Regions from separate parts of the Homo sapiens genome. Here regions 2 and 3 are each linked to region 1. Evidence: promoter capture Hi-C in 16 types of primary human blood cells and fetal thymus (Javierre and others, 2016). All regions are on one chromosome and are shown on one strand. The core of a region is centred on a gene start or on the middle of the fragment in contact, and the rest is flanking DNA. Distances in the headings are between cores, read along the strand shown.

What was found. Contacts are between HindIII fragments. The CHiCAGO score rates a contact against its expected background, and 5 or more counts as called.
Region 2: a fragment that was not itself captured here is called in contact with the fragment with the promoter of CMTM5 in region 1 in 1 of 17 cell types (total B cells); the score reaches 5.5 in total B cells.
Region 3: a fragment that was not itself captured here is called in contact with the fragment with the promoter of CMTM5 in region 1 in 4 of 17 cell types (erythroblasts, activated CD4 T cells, total CD8 T cells and 1 more); the score reaches 6.7 in erythroblasts.

Annotation. Positions count from the first base shown.
Region 1 is chr14:23,375,295-23,378,484 of GRCh38, forward strand. CMTM5 (CKLF like MARVEL transmembrane domain containing 5) reads left to right here and starts at 1,752. Exons shown (of 6, transcript NM_001288746.2): 1 at 1,752-2,083; 2 at 3,055-3,190. The coding sequence starts at 1,958. It overlaps IL25 (interleukin 25), which reads left to right. Exons shown (of 3, transcript NM_172314.2): 3 at 331-1,109. The coding sequence ends at 586. The HindIII fragment of the contact is 2,824 bases long and covers 1-2,340 here.
Region 2 is chr14:23,077,832-23,081,021 of GRCh38, forward strand. ACIN1 (apoptotic chromatin condensation inducer 1) reads right to left here. Exons shown (of 19, transcript NM_001386863.1): 6 at 1,716-2,978; 7 at 989-1,207; 8 at 320-435. It overlaps LOC124903288 (a long non-coding RNA gene), which reads left to right and starts at 435. Exons shown (of 2, transcript XR_007064077.1): 1 at 435-866; 2 at 1,629-3,190. RefSeq lists an enhancer at 561-1,760. The HindIII fragment of the contact is 3,399 bases long and covers 49-3,190 here.
Region 3 is chr14:23,113,452-23,116,641 of GRCh38, forward strand. No RefSeq gene overlaps it. Among named protein-coding and RNA genes, the nearest start is that of CEBPE, 4.2 kb to the right of the region's middle. RefSeq lists enhancers at 431-1,149, 1,315-2,514. The HindIII fragment of the contact is 3,584 bases long and covers 1-3,190 here.

The sequences.
Region 1 (3,190 bases), core at 502-3,001:
TTACAATAAGAAACCTCATGCTGAGTCAGATAGAAGCAGTGCTGGTCAATGGAGGCTAAGGCAGGAGCCTGCTCACCCTCCCCTGCCTCCCTCACGGTCCCAGGACCAGTTGGAAAGCACTCTGTCACCTGCTACCCTCATTTACAGTGGGGAAAATTTAATAAAGGAGGGAGGTGACTTGTTCAAAGTTACACAGCAAGTGGGTTCAGAACTGAGACAAGAGGCCAAGGCCCCAGACGGACCATTTCCTTCTTCTGGCACTCCCATGCCACCCCACCCTCTCTGTTTCCGGCCCATCTTTCCAAGGCCTGACAAGTGCCGCCCCCACAGGTTGGACAGAGACTTGAACCGGCTCCCCCAGGACCTGTACCACGCCCGTTGCCTGTGCCCGCACTGCGTCAGCCTACAGACAGGCTCCCACATGGACCCCCGGGGCAACTCGGAGCTGCTCTACCACAACCAGACTGTCTTCTACCGGCGGCCATGCCATGGCGAGAAGGGCACCCACAAGGGCTACTGCCTGGAGCGCAGGCTGTACCGTGTTTCCTTAGCTTGTGTGTGTGTGCGGCCCCGTGTGATGGGCTAGCCGGACCTGCTGGAGGCTGGTCCCTTTTTGGGAAACCTGGAGCCAGGTGTACAACCACTTGCCATGAAGGGCCAGGATGCCCAGATGCTTGGCCCCTGTGAAGTGCTGTCTGGAGCAGCAGGATCCCGGGACAGGATGGGGGGCTTTGGGGAAAGCCTGCACTTCTGCACATTTTGAAAAGAGCAGCTGCTGCTTAGGGCCGCCGGAAGCTGGTGTCCTGTCATTTTCTCTCAGGAAAGGTTTTCAAAGTTCTGCCCATTTCTGGAGGCCACCACTCCTGTCTCTTCCTCTTTTCCCATCCCCTGCTACCCTGGCCCAGCACAGGCACTTTCTAGATATTTCCCCCTTGCTGGAGAAGAAAGAGCCCCTGGTTTTATTTGTTTGTTTACTCATCACTCAGTGAGCATCTACTTTGGGTGCATTCTAGTGTAGTTACTAGTCTTTTGACATGGATGATTCTGAGGAGGAAGCTGTTATTGAATGTATAGAGATTTATCCAAATAAATATCTTTATTTAAAAATGGCCTAATCTGTATTTGGCATCCGTGGTGCCTGAACATCTCGCGGTCTCCCAGCCTGTCCCTTCTCCTTTCCACCATTGGCCCTCACCTCTGTCCACCCTGCCAGCTCTCTCCGCCCTCCAGAGTTTCCGCTGCACCCTCCCGTCCTCTCCCATCTCTGTCTCCCTGGCCCATCCCAAACACCAGGGTGGGGGCTAGGCCGCGCTCCCGGCATGCTGGAGAGACAGAGGCCCATTGAGGCATTGCAGCAGGCACAGAGCGCCCCCTTGTCCCCCAACAATCCGCCTTTGTCCTCCAGTCCTGGCTGCTGCAGCTTGGTCCTGGGGGTGCTGCCTGGGCTGGGCTCCAGCTCACACCCTCCCTAAAAGGAAATGGGAGAAAGGACCGGCCAAACAAGAGGGTTAAGGTTAGAGAAGGGGGACACAAATGTCTTCAGGCTTAGGTCCCTGGGGGCTCCCAGTCCTGCCCCTGTTCCTCTACTCACATCCCAGCTCCTCCCAGTTTCTTTTCGGACCTCCTCCTCTCCCCTTCCTTCTCTATTCCAGGCTGGGTTGGGCTCTAAGCAAGGGGAGGGATTAGAGCCTCCTTCCTCTCTGCCCCTCCCCATGGGTCTCTAGGGGGCTGGTGCAGGCAGCAGCAGAGGCACTCTGGGCAGCTGGGTGAGGGCCCATCTGGGCAAGGCCCCCAGCGCCTGCCTTCTCTCCCGGGGCCCTGTGGGCAAGCCTCCTGCTTCACTTTCAGGTTTCTCGAAGTGCCTTCTTGCTCCTGTCTGTTTCCCCATCCTGCCAGATTTCTGTTTCTCTTGCTGGGCTTTTGGCAGTAGGGGGCTGTGTTGGTGGGCCCTACGAAGATGCTCAGTGCTCGAGATCGCCGGGACCGGCACCCTGAGGAGGGGGTAGTTGCAGAGCTCCAGGGCTTCGCGGTGGACAAGGCCTTCCTCACCTCCCACAAGGGCATCCTGCTGGAAACCGAGCTGGTAACAGCTGCCTCCCAACCTGGTGCCTCCATCTCCCTGACCCCCGGCTCCTGGCCAGCCTTATGCCAGCCCCCAGCTCACCCTTCAGTAGCCTCCTTCCCCAAGCCCTCTGGACACCTCTCCTGCCCGCAGCTGCCCCTTCTTCGTCTCCTACTCTGCCTTCTTGCTGCCTCTCCACCCGGAGACATTTACAGCAGGTTTCAGTTGCAGCAGGAAGGACTGCAGTTAGACAGGGTGACTTTTTGGGACATTGAGGAAGCTTGAGACATAGGGATGGGACAGGGGCAATGACAGCCTCTAACATGGCCACTTCTCAGCACGTCCAAGAAGTCTAACTATCAAAAAGGGCAGACTTCCTGCAACTGCACTTTATCTGTGGTCTGCTGCCCAGAAACATCTCTTCTCAGGAAAGGATCTTCCCCTGGTTACTTAGCAAGACCACAGTGTAGAGTTAAGGCCTCTGCACGTATGCCACCCTAGGTCATCAGAGCTAAAGGGGCTCCCAGAAACCACTGGGCAGCATCTGCCTTCTCTCTTGGCATGGAATCAAAGGCTCTGGTCCTTGTCAGGGGGCTTTCAGGCATCTGGGGGTGGGGAAAGCATTATGAGGCAGGGGGCTCCTCTTGGTCCCTGTGGAGTCGGGTCTCTGTGGGCACAACTCCAGGGGCTGGCATTCACACTGTACCTATGAATTACTGTGGGATAGTGCTCCTGGGAGCCATATGGCTTGGCCAGACTGCTGGGGTTGCTGGGTGAGCAGAGTGGGAGGCCGGAGACTGCCCTTGACCGGCAAATGCCCTGCAACGGTGGCTCCTGACACCAGGGGATAGGGAGATGTGCCAGAGTCCTTCCTCCCCTCCAAGGACAGGTAGTAGGTGCCAGCCTAGGGGAGCTTCCAAGGAGGGGAAGGCAAAGCCCTGGCCCCTGCCTGTGTCCCCTTCTTGGCATGTTCCACATGCTCGGTCCTGCAGGCCCTGACCCTCATCATCTTCATCTGCTTCACGGCCTCCATCTCTGCCTACATGGCCGCGGCGCTACTGGAGTTCTTCATCACACTTGCCTTCCTCTTCCTCTATGCCACCCAGTACTACCAGCGCTTCGACCGAA
Region 2 (3,190 bases), core at 498-2,997, 300 kb before region 1:
AGATGCCCGGAGTCAATTCCCTTACATGGTTTTGAGTGTGGAAGCAGAAGCTTCTATTGCCTAAATCTTAAAGGAGTTGACTATTTTGGCTGGATGATCCCAGGTGAGTTTTCCTTGTGCCCTGACGACCACTTTTCAGGTTACCTTAAAGGTGGCAGCTCCCAACATAGTAACTGAAGTCTAGCCTTTGTCCAGATAAAGCTCTGCCTTTATGTTTTAAAAGGAAACTAGGACTGCTTAGTCAAAGAACCCTAGGGAGCGAAGAACTATCGCACACTCATAGTTCCCTGTTATACCCCGGTCGAGATATATCACTTACACAGTGTGATGAATTCTTTCTGATTCTGGCAGATGAGAGGTCTGAGTCTCTGAGGTTTGGGGCTGTGTGGCAGCTGGTGGCTCTGCCTCTTCAGCTTCACACTTCTTTGGGCTCCCCTGTCAGGAGATAGCAAAAACGAACAGAGCAAAACATTTAGATCTGCTTGGTTCCTTTTCTTCTACCTGGAGCCTGAAAAAGGCAGGGCAGGACATACACAGTACCAGCTCCACACACGGCCCTCTGTATCTGTTATTTCATTTTAGAATAAGGAAAGGAACATGGCTTAAAAATAGGTACTTCAAGAATATTTATGCCAGTAATCATTTTATCAGAATTTTTAATTTTTTTCCTTTTCCTCAGTGATCCTTGTTCTGACAGAATTCTTTTTTGAGAGAACTGAGAAAAGGCTGACTTCCTTTTGGCAGATAAAAGGAGGAGTTATGAGGAAGAATTGACCCTGGGGGCCCTGGAGATAACCCTGCTGCTCAGCCTCATGTAGAACTTCTACGAACCAGGGAGCTGGAAATGAGTTAAGCAGGATTAACAGGTATCCACCACATTTCTACTGAACCTTGTCCAGACTTAACTTTTTAGTTTTATAGCAAAGACAAGAGGGAAGATCTTGCTTAATCCTCCATCTCTGTGTAGGGAGGGGTCACAATAGCCTACCCGCTCAGGCTGTAACCTCTGGGTCACATGCTTTTCAGCTGATTCAGGCTGACTCAGACGCCTTGCTTGGACAGAGGATGAGGAGGTGGAAGTCCTCTCCTTTGGCTCACAGACCTGCAGTTGTGGCACTGGTGGAGTTGCAACCTCCTGACCAGAAGAGGGATCTTTGGTTTCAGTATAGCTGGTGCTGCTGTCCCTGGAGACTCCAGGGCTCAGAGACTAAAACAAAATGAAACACATAACAAGGAAAATTATTGTATATGGTATATATTCAGTAGATTGCTGAGTTTTCCAGTTTCCATGGACCAAATTTTATACTCTGGACCTTTTTGTCTGTGTTTACTCCCATTTTGTCTGTGTTTATTCCCATTTAGTGGTCTCCTTGACCACTTATTTAACAAATTATTAAGTTTTAACTAGATGCTAGATCCTGGGACACACACGTAAAAGGGCATGCCCACATCCTCAAGAAGTTTCCATCTAGTGGAGGAGATGAGTACATAAATTCAACATTCTATCAAGGGACTCAAAATGAAAAAGAACCCCATTTCGGGAATCAGTTAATTGAAAATACGATTCTGAAATGAGGAGAAAGTAATCAGTGAAGGAGAGTAAAGGAGGCTTTTCCTATTCCTTTCAGAAATCATGACAGGCTCTCCAGGGGCTGAAATGAAAACCACTGGAATATGACAGAACATTAATACACCCGGGATTCTCTCATACTCACTTTTCTGCTGTTGCTTGATGCTGAACGAGAACGTGAACGTGACCTTGATCTGGACTCTGATGTTGATCTGGAGCCCATCTTGGGTCTACCACGAGGGTTGGCATGAGTACGTGCCTGGGCTACATCTCTCTGCTTGGATCTGAGCGGTGAATGAGACCGAGAACCTGAACTGTCAGGAGAGCGAGATCTTGATCTAGAACTGGAGGAGGAAGATGAGGAGGACCGGCTAGAGGATGAATCAGCTGACTGTTTCAATCTGTGGCTTGGGAGAAGGGTATGAGAAGCTCTTCTGCCTTCCTTCTGTTCCAAAGATGGCTGTTTCAGACATTCTTCAGTGATTCCTTTGGCCAGTGCTAATTCCTCAATTTTTAGAGGGAGGGGCTGAGCAGATCTGTCTGACTCAGGTTCAAGATCCTTCTGGGCTGAGTAGTCAGCCAGTGTGCTTTTCTGAACCAGAGGCAGGACACTCTCCTCTGGCACTTTCTCTGCTGGAGATTCTGCTTTGGTGTCTGAAGGACTTGACAAAGGAGACAGGCCTCCTACCAACTGGACAGTATGCTGAGATACTAATAGCTCCCTGGTGTCAGCATCTGTATTAGGAGGAGATAACTGAATGAGGACAGCGGGGGCTGGGCCTTCCATGGGCTCTATTTCTTCTTCGCTATGGAGCTGTGGATGAGGTGGTGGAGAAGATGCTTCCTTTGTTAGTAAAGGTGGAGGAGTCTCCTCCTCGCTGGCAGTTTGCTCTGGCAGCGCTACAAGTGAGGCCTTCTTTCGATCTTCAGTCAGTCGAGGAGGGGAAGGAGACTTCGATTTTTCCTTTAAGCCTTGTGAAGATTTTATTTCTCTTTCTTCCTCCTCAAGGGGAGATGTTGTTTTCATTTCCTTCTCCTGCTGCTGTCTGGCCAGATGACTTTTTCTAGCCTCTTCCTGGGATCTTGTAAATCTCCCTCCTCTCTCTAACACCTCCTGTTCCTGGGATCTTGTTTTGGGTCTCTCATCCATCATCTCCTCTGGTTTTACTCTAGGTATCTCTTCCCCTTCTTCCTTAAACTCTTTCAGGATTGGTGCCTCCCTAGATTTTTGTCCCTCATCATCACCTTCCTCTTCTTCATCATCTTCTTCCTCCTCCTCCTCCTCCTCTTCTTCCTCCTCTGTTTTCAAATTTCGATCTGCTCTGACCCTTAGGTTTCTGGAAGGTGTTTCTTGATCCTCTTCCTCCTCAGCAGGTTGGCTGCCCTCAGACAGTTTAGCTGCTCTTGCCTGAAAGAACAGATACACAATGGCTCCAAATGTATTTGCTCACAGTCAACAGAGGAGAGAAAGTATCTAATGAAGACACCCCTAGGAAGGAGAAATTCAATGATATATACTTTCAGCAACAGAAACAGGAGTGACAGGAGACAATCATGACTAACGTAGCCCTTAGGGGAATCAAAACAAAGTGACCAAAAGAAATATCACAATGAAGCTAC
Region 3 (3,190 bases), core at 212-2,711, 260 kb before region 1:
AGAATTTCTCATATGCCACTGAGGTTTTCTGAGGCCAGGCCAGGCCTGCTTATGGAAGCAGCTGACAGAGGTCAGCCAGGGGTTCTGTCCAGCTTGGGCCACTCCCATTTTGGAGCAGCTCATGCTGAGTCGGGAGGAGGGGTCTGTCTGCGGGGGGTGGGGGGTGCTGGTGAGGGTGATGGGAAGTGACTGGCCTGTCCGAGAGGAGACGCACAGGCTCTCAGCCAGCCCTGCCTATTGTTGCCTCAGCGTCTCCTGAACAGCCCCCTTCATCCCATAGTCCCCTCACTGGCTTGGAGCACGGCAGGGGGTGGAGGTGAAGAGGCCCCTTTCCACCCACAACCCCAACCGGGATCTTGCAACACTGGGATGGGGGCCCTGGGGGCCCAGGCATGTGGCAATCTGTGTAGAGGGGTGGGGAGGTGTGCACCGAGCAGGGGGGTTGGGGGCAGCTTTCACAAGCCACTGCCTCCGCTGACTGACCTTGGCAGACTCACCTTGGGCAGCTTCCTCCCTCTGCAGTGTCTCCCCACAGTCTGTCTTCTCCTCTGCAGCTTCCCTGTGGCCTAAGATCCTGTCTCTCAGCTCAGGAGTCTCATTCTGCTCCCCAGTTCTGCTCCAGAAAGAAAAGTGGGCCTGAGCTGTGGGCGCTGAAGCAATAGGACTGCATGCGTGTGCTGTTTGGACCTTGATTTGCTGGTTTTCAAACGTTATCGAGTCCCCGGTCCTGGTGCCTTTCCCCAGGCAGGGTTTGGCTAACTGCCCTTCCCTGGGCTCCTTTCTGTCATCTCCTTCCCCAGTGGGGACAACCTTACTGTGGTAAAGGTGCCAGGAGGACCAAGGGGCAGGGAAGCTGAATCCAGGGGCAGAGAGAACCCTGCTCTCCACCTGCCCCGGCTTCTTAGGCACCATCCTCCTTGACAGAGGGAATGAAAATAGTCATTTGCAACCCCTGCAGCCCCATTCTGGAGGGAAGGTGCATCTTTTTCTTACTTATCCTCTCCTTCCTTCTTTCATTCAGCATCTACTCCTGGCTTCCTTTCTCTCGGTCACCTTAGGGCTTTTGCATTTACCCTTCCCTCTGTTCACCCTTACACTCAAAGACATACCTGCCTCCTTCTCAAAATTTTTGAAGTGTCAACTAAAATGTCACTTCCTCAGAGATACCTTTCTCGGCCACCCCAGCTAAAATAGCCTCCCTACCTGTTGGTTTATGTGGTTTCCCCAATGGGCTATTCAAATGGAGTAAGCAGGAGAAGTTAATTAAGGTGCTTTATGAAGATGTGAACCAACAGTATCTGGGGAAAGTTCCTGGAGTGGTGAAGTCCCCTGGGCTAGCCCAGCACGGGGGGCGCCTGAGGGCCAGGAATCCTTTGGGAGGGACTGTGGAGAGCGCCGGTCAGCAGGGGGCTCCCACCACTCTCCTCCTGCCAGTCTCACCCCCACCCCATGAGAGGCTGGTTGATGTAGGGAGGCATCCACCTGGGGACTGTGTAGGGTGATGAAGGGTGGAGAGGGTTCTGGAGGGGCAAAGGAAGACATTCAGCACACTTGTTTATTGACTTTTTCTTCCTACTCCTTCTGCTGAGAACTTGTCTCATTCCTAGAAAAGATACTCAACAAATACTTGTTGAATAAGTTACGTTGGCCAAAACCAATTGAGGTCAGATTGAAAGCCTCTTTCAGGAAGTGTGCCCTCTGGCTCTGACTCACACCCCTGGAATATGATCTGATGCAGAGGATTGGGATGTGTTCAGCTGCTGCACGTCACGCTGGGATCACAGTGGGGAGACGGGGATGTGACTCCCCCAGACTGGGTGCCAGTCAGGAAGGCTCCACTAGGCACCGGCCCTGAGGACCTGACTGGGTGAGCGGGGGCCTGAGAGGAGAAGCAATTCAGAGCTGTGGGAACAAAGCCTGGGCTTCATGCTGAAGCAACCCAGGTCCCATCACCCAGAACCTTGAAAGTAAGTCAAGGGACAGTGGTCTTGAGCTGAGAGGAGGAAATCCGGAGGTTGAGTCATTTACCATGTTCTGTACAAACCCCCCTTATGCAACCTATCCCCCTGGGCTGAAAGGAAGGTGTGAGGATTCTCCCAGGTGCCCACAGAGACTGGTACCTCCCCTCCTTCTGAACTCAGGAAGCTCCAGTCGGTCCCTCCACTGAAGGTTCAGATCTCTCCCTCCAAACCAGACCTGGGGCACGGGCCTCCAGGACACAGAGGTGCCCGAGAGACACAGAGGCAAAGGCAGGAAAAGGACTGAGTCCTGGGCAAGGTAGACATGCCGCACACGGATGCCCGAGGTGTGGGAGGGCTCTACCGCTGGAGATTTGAAGAAGGGAGAGAGATCTGGGATGATCCAGACACCAGTCTCTCACCTTCTCAGAAAATTATTCCTTGATGTCTGACTCAGCCTTTCACAGCATTGGCTTAGGAGAGACTTTAAGAAGCCCGTAATCTGTCCCTGGGTCCCTGACACTGTTGGGCACTGTTCTTTATTGAATGTGATTCATGTGACACTCGTACTGAGGATCTGTGAGAAGAGTGTAGCGTGGAGTAGAGAGACAGGTACCACGTACTGAGGCAGCAAAGGGACTCAGTGAGTGTCAGGAGAAGCCTCTTACCCCTCTGGCCCTCAACTGCTTTATCTGTAAAATGTGGCTCACCCTACCTTGCTGGTCTGAGGGCAGAGCCCACCAGATGATCTCTTGAGGTCTCTCCCAGCACATCTTGAGATCTGCGATTTTACAGAGCCAATTTTGGTTCTACCTCTAAACAATCGTGTGACTCCAGGTAAGTCCCTTCCCCTCTTTGCAGCCTGTTTTCTTACCTGCAAAATGAGTTTAGATGAGATCTCTGAGGTCCTTTCAGTTCCAGCAAAATGGAGGAATCATAATAAATATGCTTATTACATGCAAAGTTTTCTTTTTCTATGAATATAACAACACTACGGAGTGGGGACAAATATTGCAACCATTTTGCAGATGAGGAAACTGAGGCACAGAAAGACATAATGGCTCAAGGCTCACAGCTAGTAAGTAGCAGTGTAAGATTCAAACTGAGGCTCTTAATTATTGTACCATTCTGTCTCTTAGGCTGTAGTCCAATGCAAAAGAAAATGCTGTTTCGAATGATGGGTTTCCCTGGCACGGGCAGATTGTCATCCTCCTTCTCACTACCAGTGTTCT